Linked DNA regions of Homo sapiens: region 1 is linked to region 2. Evidence: promoter capture Hi-C in 16 types of primary human blood cells and fetal thymus (Javierre and others, 2016). All regions are on one chromosome and are shown on one strand. Each heading gives the region's core, a stretch centred on a gene start or on the middle of the fragment in contact. The rest is flanking DNA. Distances are from core to core; before and after follow the strand shown.

Region 1 (4,191 bases), core at 1,160-3,659, 300 kb after region 2:
CAGAAACCTTTCAAGTCCTTCATGGCTTTCTCTCAGGCTCAAAAATCTATGACTGAGTGTGGGGCAGACTCACCTCCACACAAATGCTGAATGATTAGTGTGTCAAGTGTGTCTTATGCCAGGACACCCAGGAATCTATTGCAATGATTCATTCATCATTCTGCTATGCAAGAAATTTAAAGACAAGTTTCCCAGTTTTCGAGGAGCTGATCATTTACATGGGGGGATGATATACTGCAAGTACTATGTCCAAGTGTGGATCAGAAAAACTCAGCTATTCAGACTAGGCTTGAGCCCAGAACATGATAATTCAACACAGTAAGAATTCATGACTGATTCTGTGTCATGCAATTAGCAACTGTGGGCTTTCTGTCTGAGAATCTTACGGCCAAAGATGCCTGGCCCTCAGTAACACTTAGCGCTGTAAATTAACCAGCTATCACGGGGAATCAAATCATGGCCACTGTTGTCACTCTTGACATTAATCCCATACTTAATTATGCCCAATTTTATGCATCTAAGTAGCCAAAAAAGAAAGTTTCTAATAAACATCTGATTAACGGTAAGACAGTGATATAAAGCGTAGTGCAAATAACCCTGGATTAGGGTGGGTGATCAGCAAGAGCTTTTCGCTCTGAATTTCAGGACAAGTAACACAACCTCAGCATGTTCTCCTTTACTGTAAAAGGGATACGTGTTATCACCCACGTAAGACTGAAGGAATGTAAACTATTAAACCAGTATTAGAGTTCTTAAATGGGTCAAGTCATAATCATTCAAGTGTTCAATTTTTTTTTAACACCAACTGCACATAACAAACTTCTGAATGTCCAAAACTTCCTGAAACATTTACGTCATTTTTCGTTCATTAAAAGGGCAGGTTAAGCCTGGGCCACATGGTGAAACGCCCTCTCTACAAAAAAAAAAAAAAAAAAAAAAAATTAGCCGGGCATGGTGGCCTGCACCTGTAGTCCCAGCTACTCAGGAGGCTGAGGTGGGAAGATTGCTTGAGCCTGGGGAAGTCGAGGCTGCAGTGAGCCGTGATAACACCACTGTACTCCAGTCTGGGCAACAAAAATAAAAATAAAAAAAGGGCAGGTTAGTTTTTCGCCGTATTTAATACTAACAGTATAAAAGAAGAGTATATGTTGCTCTAGGCCTTCTTTCGGGTCATAATCATTTAAATCTCAAAGTATGTGTCTGCATTTAACATGAATGAACTGTGCTAATGCCTGATTACCTCAAGTCAACTCAGAATCATCACATTAAGTACTGAACGCAGGGAGTTAAATGCCCTCCCAAAAGTCATGGAGCACAGACAAGGCCAGAAGCCATGGAGACTCCTGGGTGGTGGTGGTGACCTTGAGTCCTATTTACCTTTGTGCATTTCACAGGACTTCTCAGGACAATGTCTCACACATAGCGGGTGCCCAGTGAACTTCTGAAACACCATCCAGGGTCTCAGAAGGCTGCCTGATGCTCTAGTTCAGGTATACCATATAGATGAAACACTTCTCAGCTACAATAATTTCAAAAGACTGTAGAGCACACACTAATCAGGTACGAGAGGTGACAGCTACCTTAAAGACCACCAAGTGCTGAGTATTTAGTAAACACTATACAAGTGAGGACTTCAAGGACAGACTGGAGGAAGGCGGGGGTGTGCTCTGACGAGGCCAGGACTCAGACAGCGTGGGAAGGGGACACAGTTGGCAGGCGGTAACTGCGGGCGAAGTGAGCGTGCTATCGGGCAGGGAAGGCGGGGTGTGTGGGACTTGGAGGGGGCAAGTGAGGACTACTCGAGGAGGGCGGCCAGTCCGCGCTGCCGGGGGATCGACGGCGGCCCCTTACCCGGACGTCCGGCCCCTCCACCAGCTTGAGGGCCTGCGCCTCCAGCAGGTCGGCCCGCAGCTGCACCAGGAAGCGCACGCCGCCGTCCAGCTTGCTGATGTGGTGGAAGAGGCCGCGATAGCGCGGCACCAGCGCGTAGCGCAGCCGGTCCTCGGCCTGCAGCAGCACCGCCGCCTCCCGCTGCTGCTGGCGCAGATGGAGCACGCCGGCGCTCTGCTCCGCCACCTGGCCGTGGTCCACGCCGAAGCCCCGCGCCAGGCGGCCCAGCAGTTCGGCCCGCTGGGCCGTCTCGGCCAGCCCACCGTAGAAGCTCACGAAGTCCGCGCACTGACCCTCGGCGGGCGCCGGTGTCTTCTCGCGCAGCTCGTAGGCCGGCGTCGGCGGCACCGCGCGGCGCAGCAGCTCGTCCATGGCCCGCTCCAGGGCGCCGGCCGCCTGCCCGCTCGCCAGCCGGGGCCCGGGCGGCCGCGGGGGCAACCGCAGCGGGAGGAGACGCCTGGCCGTCAAGCCTGGCCCGAAGCCTCGCATGGTGCCCCACAACAGCTGCCGAGGGGGAGCGCCGCCGCCGCTGCCGCGCTTCCGGCTTCCGGCGCGCGCCGGCCCCATTGGCCGAGGCCGCGAGCCCGGCTGGGGACGCGGCCAATAGGAGGGCGGGGCGGTGGGGGCGAGGCGGCGGGGGCGGAGCGGCTCTGGCGGCGGCCGGAGGCCAAGTGTGGCTAAAGGTTACTGCCCCGCGGCTGGGCTGCCTCGGGGCCTGCTCCCGCGCGGCTGGCGGCTTGTACTCCGGTCCTAACACCTGACCGCCTAAAGGCACCGGCCCAGCCCCTCCTCTCTTTCCCGACTGCACTGCACAAGTGCCGCCTCCTCTCTAGATCCGAGCGCCTCCAGCCTCCCGGTGCATCAGAGTCACCTGGGAACTCCTGCACCGGAGGATTCCTGGGCTCCGAAATCAGAATCCTAGAGATTCAGATTCAGTGTGTCTGGGAGGAGCCAAGGAATATGCTTGCTTAAGAGGTGTTTGTGGCAATCCTCTGGCATGGTAGGTAGCCTTTGTTTGACCCCTGCCTAGGCACTCACCATTCGCGTCAGTGTCTTACACACATGACGCTCAGAGCCACAGAGGTTGGAGGGGTGTGTGAGTGTGTGTGGAGAGAGAGAGAATATGTCTATATGTATGGATGTATGTACACATACGCACGCATATACACATACATATGTATGTAAAAGAGACATGGAGACAGAGAGACTGATGGAAAGCCATACCCTTGAGCAAATGCCAGAATGAGACAAAGAGTTTTCTTTGAAATAGTTTTCAGATAATTGCAGTTATCAAGGCATATTTATTTTGTCCTCTAGAAAGATAGGCCTGAACTCTAGTTCCCCCTCCTTCCCCAATCCATTACAATCTGTAGAAGAGAATGTCACATACCAGCCATGTCTCCCACATGCAAAATTGCAGGAGGCATTAGGAACACAGTGGGATTTTGTTCCACTCTGATGGAAATATGGCATCTTTGGTTGGAGGGTGAGGGAGCCATGTACTTGGTTGACTATGTCTAGGTGCTAGGATTTCTATAGGTAGAACCCTTTGGTGCAGGTCTTGCAGTATAAAAGACACCTGGAGGTAGTTCTGTATGAGGACAGCCTTTGCTGGGTGTGTCTCATCTTATGGGGCACGAAGAAAGTACGTTTGGCTCATTCTGCCAAGACACAGACACACAAAACATTCTGAAAGCCTAGTGGTGGCTTTTGAGGACACCTCTCCATTCCTCTTTTCTAAGAAGTGGTGAAACCATATTGCCAGCTGGCTAAGGGAGTTGGTGGGGTCCAAACTCTGGTGTTTGTCTCTTTGCCTTGTCGAGTGAGCTTTTGTCTGTCCTAGGATACTCCTGCCTTGCTTTAGGAATCTTGTCTTGAAAGCTTGACTTTGCTTAAGCATTTGCTAAGTGTAGTACTCCCACAACCCTGTTCTTTCTCATCTTTCCCGGTGCCTTCCTTTTTATGTAATTTCTGGCTTCTGTTTTTTTTTTCTCTGTGTTTATACTTTTTTCTCTAGGCGTCAACAGCCATCCTCTGCTTTTTCCCACTCATGTCCTTATTTCAAAAGACTGCCCCAATCCAAAAATGAAATTAAAGAAACAATTCTATTTACAACAACATCTGAAGGGATAAAAGAAACATGTTTAACCAAGGAAGTGTGAGACTGGTAGATGGAAAACCACAGAACAGTATTGAAGGAAATTAAAGAAGACCTAAACAAATGGAATGGTCCATGCATGGTTCATGGATTGGAAGATGTAATATTGTTAATATAGCTCATATGGTTTGGATCTGTGTCCA
Region 2 (3,677 bases), core at 995-3,494:
TCCGGCCCTCCCGCCTGCCGTTTTCCCAGCCTGATGCCCCCAGCTCCAGACTCGCCTCCCCGCAGGCTGCCAGCCTGCAGCTCTTCCCTGTAATAGCACTGGGCATCCTCCTGACCTCCTGCAGCAGTCGGGAAAGAGCAGAGCAGAGAACGCGAGGGAACCTTAGGAAGGATATCACCTAGTCCTTGTTTTATAAATGAGCAAACTGGGGCTCAGAGAGGTTCAGAGTTTCATCCAAGGTCACGTAAGGAAATCCAGCTGCAGCCCTGGGTGGTGGCTGCAATCGAAGGGCTTGGAAGCCTGGCGGCCTGCACATCACCACAGCTCCAGCCCACCTCAGGTGCTGGGTGTTCTAGAAGTTACCTAACTGCACCTTGCCAGTTTCCTCACCTGTACACTGAGGCAATGATCGCATCTATCATGGCAAGCTGTGGGAGGTTAAAACAGAACAGACACACCATGCTTCAGGCGTGCTGGAGTTGTCTAGTCTGTCCACTGGTGCTGTTTCCTCTACCCCACCTCCCTCAGATTCTCCCATTTCATCGTCACTGTGGGGAAAGGAGACAGGATGAGCCCAGCGAAAGCAGACGGAAAGCCCAGGCCTGCAGATGGGCAGGCTGGCCAAGAACACACCCCTGGGACCAGCCCTCTGATTATTTCTCTAGATGAGTCAACCTACAAGCACGGAGGTTAAGTGGCTGCCCGTGGCCACGGCCACACACACCCAGTGGCAGAGACAAAAGGGGGTTGGAGGGAGAGGACCCAATCGCACGACTTCAACATTAGGCCTGGCCCTGAGTGACAGCTCTGGAGTGAGCTGTCTGCATCGGTCAGGGTTCTCCAGAGAAACAGAACCAACAGGATATATAGAGATGTATTGCGAGGCATTGACCCACACGATACGGAGTCGAAGCAGTCCCACCATTTGCTGTGTGAGTGCTGGGGGCCCACGTGGTGGCGTTCTAGTCCAAACTCGAAGGCCTGAGAACTGGGAGAACCAATGTTATGAGTCCTGGTCCAAGTCTGAAGGCCAGAGACCCAGGAGTTGTGATGTCCCAGCTCAAGGGGAGAGAGCGAATTCACCTTCCTCTGCTTGCTTGTTGTTTGCAGGCCCTCAGTGGATTGGATGGTGCCTGCCTGCACTGGGGAGCGCCATCTTCTTACTCAGCCCCATAATTAGATGCTAATCCCTCCCAGAGACACCCCACATGGGAGAGTAGCCTGTGGTTCTGAACCCTGCAACTGCTAGGGATGCAGGGAGGGAGTCACAGGGTGGGGGTCACAGGGCTGGCCACGGTCCTCTACTGTCCCTGGCCCCAGGTCCCTGGACTTCAAAGCTGTTGTGCTCCTGGCTCAACGGCTATAGTGCCCATGCTGGTGAGGTTCCAGGTGTGTGTGCGAGTGTGCACGCACACATGCTTTTAGTGTTACCATCTTCTCTCCCCATCCAGAGTCAACAGAGTGCCTGAGTGCCATGTGGCCTTACTATGCTACCCTGGGGGAAACGGAGAGAGAACTGCCGAGCCCACACAGGGCAGGAGCACTGTCCCTCTCCATGGTGGAAGACGCAGGCTCTAGCGGTCCAATGCCTCGCCCAGGTCCAACAGCCGGGCGGCCCAGGGAAAGCACTGATGCTGCTCATGCCCTCCCCACGCCCTTCAACATGGGGCTGCCCAGACCCCACAGCACCCTCGAGGGCCAGGGCAGCTAAAGCTCTGACCAGGGAAGGGTGTTCTCTGCCCTCCCACACATCCTGGGGGCCCAGAAAGGCAAGGATTTGGAGCCCCAATAGCGGCCAGAGGACAAAATGCTCACACATCCAAGCAGCCTGCCCTCCCACCCTTTACAACACCCGCAACCCGTGGCCTCCGTGGTCTCCTCCAGCACACAGGCTGGAAAACAGGAGGAACCAGGGGAGGTCACCTCCCCTCCTAAACCTGCCTCCAGCCCTGTGAACAGGGGCGGGGGTGACAATTCAGTGGCTCAGTGAGAGGATCCAGGTGGGAACCCAGTGAACACAGGGCCTCCCAAAGGAGGAGTGAGGGGCTCTCTCCGCAAACAAAGGGCCCCTGGCCACCCCAACACATAAACACACACACACACACACACACAGCCAACTACACACACAGGAACCAGAAATACTTCTTTATTCAAGCCCAAACGTGCAGCAGCCGCCTCCCAACCACAGCAGGCTCCTCCTTCCCTCCAGCCCCAGTTTCACCCCGCACAACCCATGTTCTCCCCACAACGCTCCTCAGATAGGGCACTCCCCCAGCAGGGGTACAGCTTGGCTCCGGGACCTCGGTCCCGCCGAGGCTGGCTTCAGTTTCTGAATTTGCCCACCAGTGGCTTCGAGGGCCAAGCCCCCAGGCCCTGCTGGTCCAGGAGGAGAGACAGCTGCCTGCGAGCCTCCTGGTAGGGCCCAGCCTAGGGCGGGAGATGAGAGGTGGGGTGAGAGGAGGTACCTGCAGGGGGCAGGGACTGCAGGGCTGGAGAGGGACCGGGACGGGGGGAGGGTGGGGAACCAACCTTGGCAGCCTCGTAGGTCTTCAAGGCCAGGAGGTAGGGCTTCCCCACAGCCCTGGCCGCCTGGTGAAAGGCCCGGAGAAAGGAGGCCTTGCAGAGACGGGAGGGAGGCCCCAGGGCGGCACTGGATGAAGAGAGGATACCACTGAGATCAGAGAGATACAAGCTGGACCAGCAGGCCTGCTACACACCTCACACTACCTCCTCTCACACTGTGACAATGTCACAGGACTCACAGGGCAGACAGAGGTGTGGCCACCACTACGGAGCTAGGAAGGGGTTGAGCGAAGGGGTTGAGCGAAGGGGTTGCGCTGGGATTAGACTGAGGTGAGGAAGCTCATGCATGAGCCCTCCATCACCAGCACTGCTCCACAGCCCGGCCCCAGGGGGCCCTTCTCACTTGGCCTTCACACGCCCGGTGGCCACATCCACAACCTCGATGCCAGGGTCCCCCAGGCTCCAGTTGAGGCTCAGGCCACGGCAGGTGTCAGGGGTGGGTTCGGAAGGGGCCACCGGGGGCCCTGCAAACAGGTGCAGGGCGGTCCGGACGTAGGGAGGTGGCAGGCATGGCCCCAGGACACTGTCCAGGCAGGGCCGGGTGTGGATGGCCCTGCTCAGAGTCGGAGGGTCGTGGCATGAGTCAGCTGCAGGGCAGAAGGGACAGGACAAGGTGAGTGACCTCCCTGCCCTCCCTTCTCACCCCCCCAGCCCTCACCACGTGCTCACCCAGGATGAGGCTGGTGCTGTAGAGTGGGGACACCAGGTGGGCCAGCAGGGCACCACCCAGCCCCAGCACGGCCCAGCGTGCCAGCTTGTCACTGGCTGACAGGCAGCCCACGTGGGTGTCACAGAGCGAGGGCGCCACGTAGCACACAGGCTTCAGCTGCCCGAGCACATGGGCCTGCAGGCGCATGGGTGGGCTGTGCGGGAGGCCACCTTCCGAGGTGGGGGGCAGGCTGCGGGCCGGGTGGGGACAGACATCAGCTTCAGGGCTGCTCTTCTGACCCTGGCCCCCACCCAGCAGCCCAACCGAGGGAGCCCCATCCCCCGCCTGCCCCGGGGGCCCTGCATACTAGATGTCACGGGCCGCGCCCTTGGGGGTGTTGCTGATGTAGAGGTGCAGGAAGACGCGGGGCTTGAGGGTGAATGGG

Evidence for each region. Contacts are between HindIII fragments. The CHiCAGO score rates a contact against its expected background, and 5 or more counts as called.
Region 1: the fragment with the promoter of MLYCD here is called in contact with the fragment with the promoter of ADAD2-AS1 in region 2 in 5 of 17 cell types (total CD8 T cells, neutrophils, naive CD4 T cells and 2 more); the score reaches 6.8 in total CD8 T cells.

What each region holds. Positions count from the first base shown.
Region 1 is chr16:83,897,333-83,901,523 of GRCh38, reverse strand. MLYCD (malonyl-CoA decarboxylase) reads right to left here and starts at 2,409. Exons shown (of 5, transcript NM_012213.3): 1 at 1,852-2,409. The coding sequence starts at 2,379. RefSeq lists silencers at 1,740-1,909, 2,210-2,639. The HindIII fragment of the contact is 8,175 bases long and covers 1-3,773 here.
Region 2 is chr16:84,195,620-84,199,296 of GRCh38, reverse strand. ADAD2-AS1 (ADAD2 antisense RNA 1) reads left to right here and starts at 2,244. Exons shown (of 5, transcript NR_147175.1): 1 at 2,244-2,415. ADAD2 (adenosine deaminase domain containing 2) reads right to left here. Exons shown (of 10, transcript NM_001145400.2): 6 at 3,600-3,677; 7 at 3,253-3,482; 8 at 2,927-3,170; 9 at 2,530-2,650; 10 at 2,131-2,427. The coding sequence ends at 2,323. RefSeq lists an enhancer at 3,014-3,636. The HindIII fragment of the contact is 32,016 bases long and covers 1-3,677 here.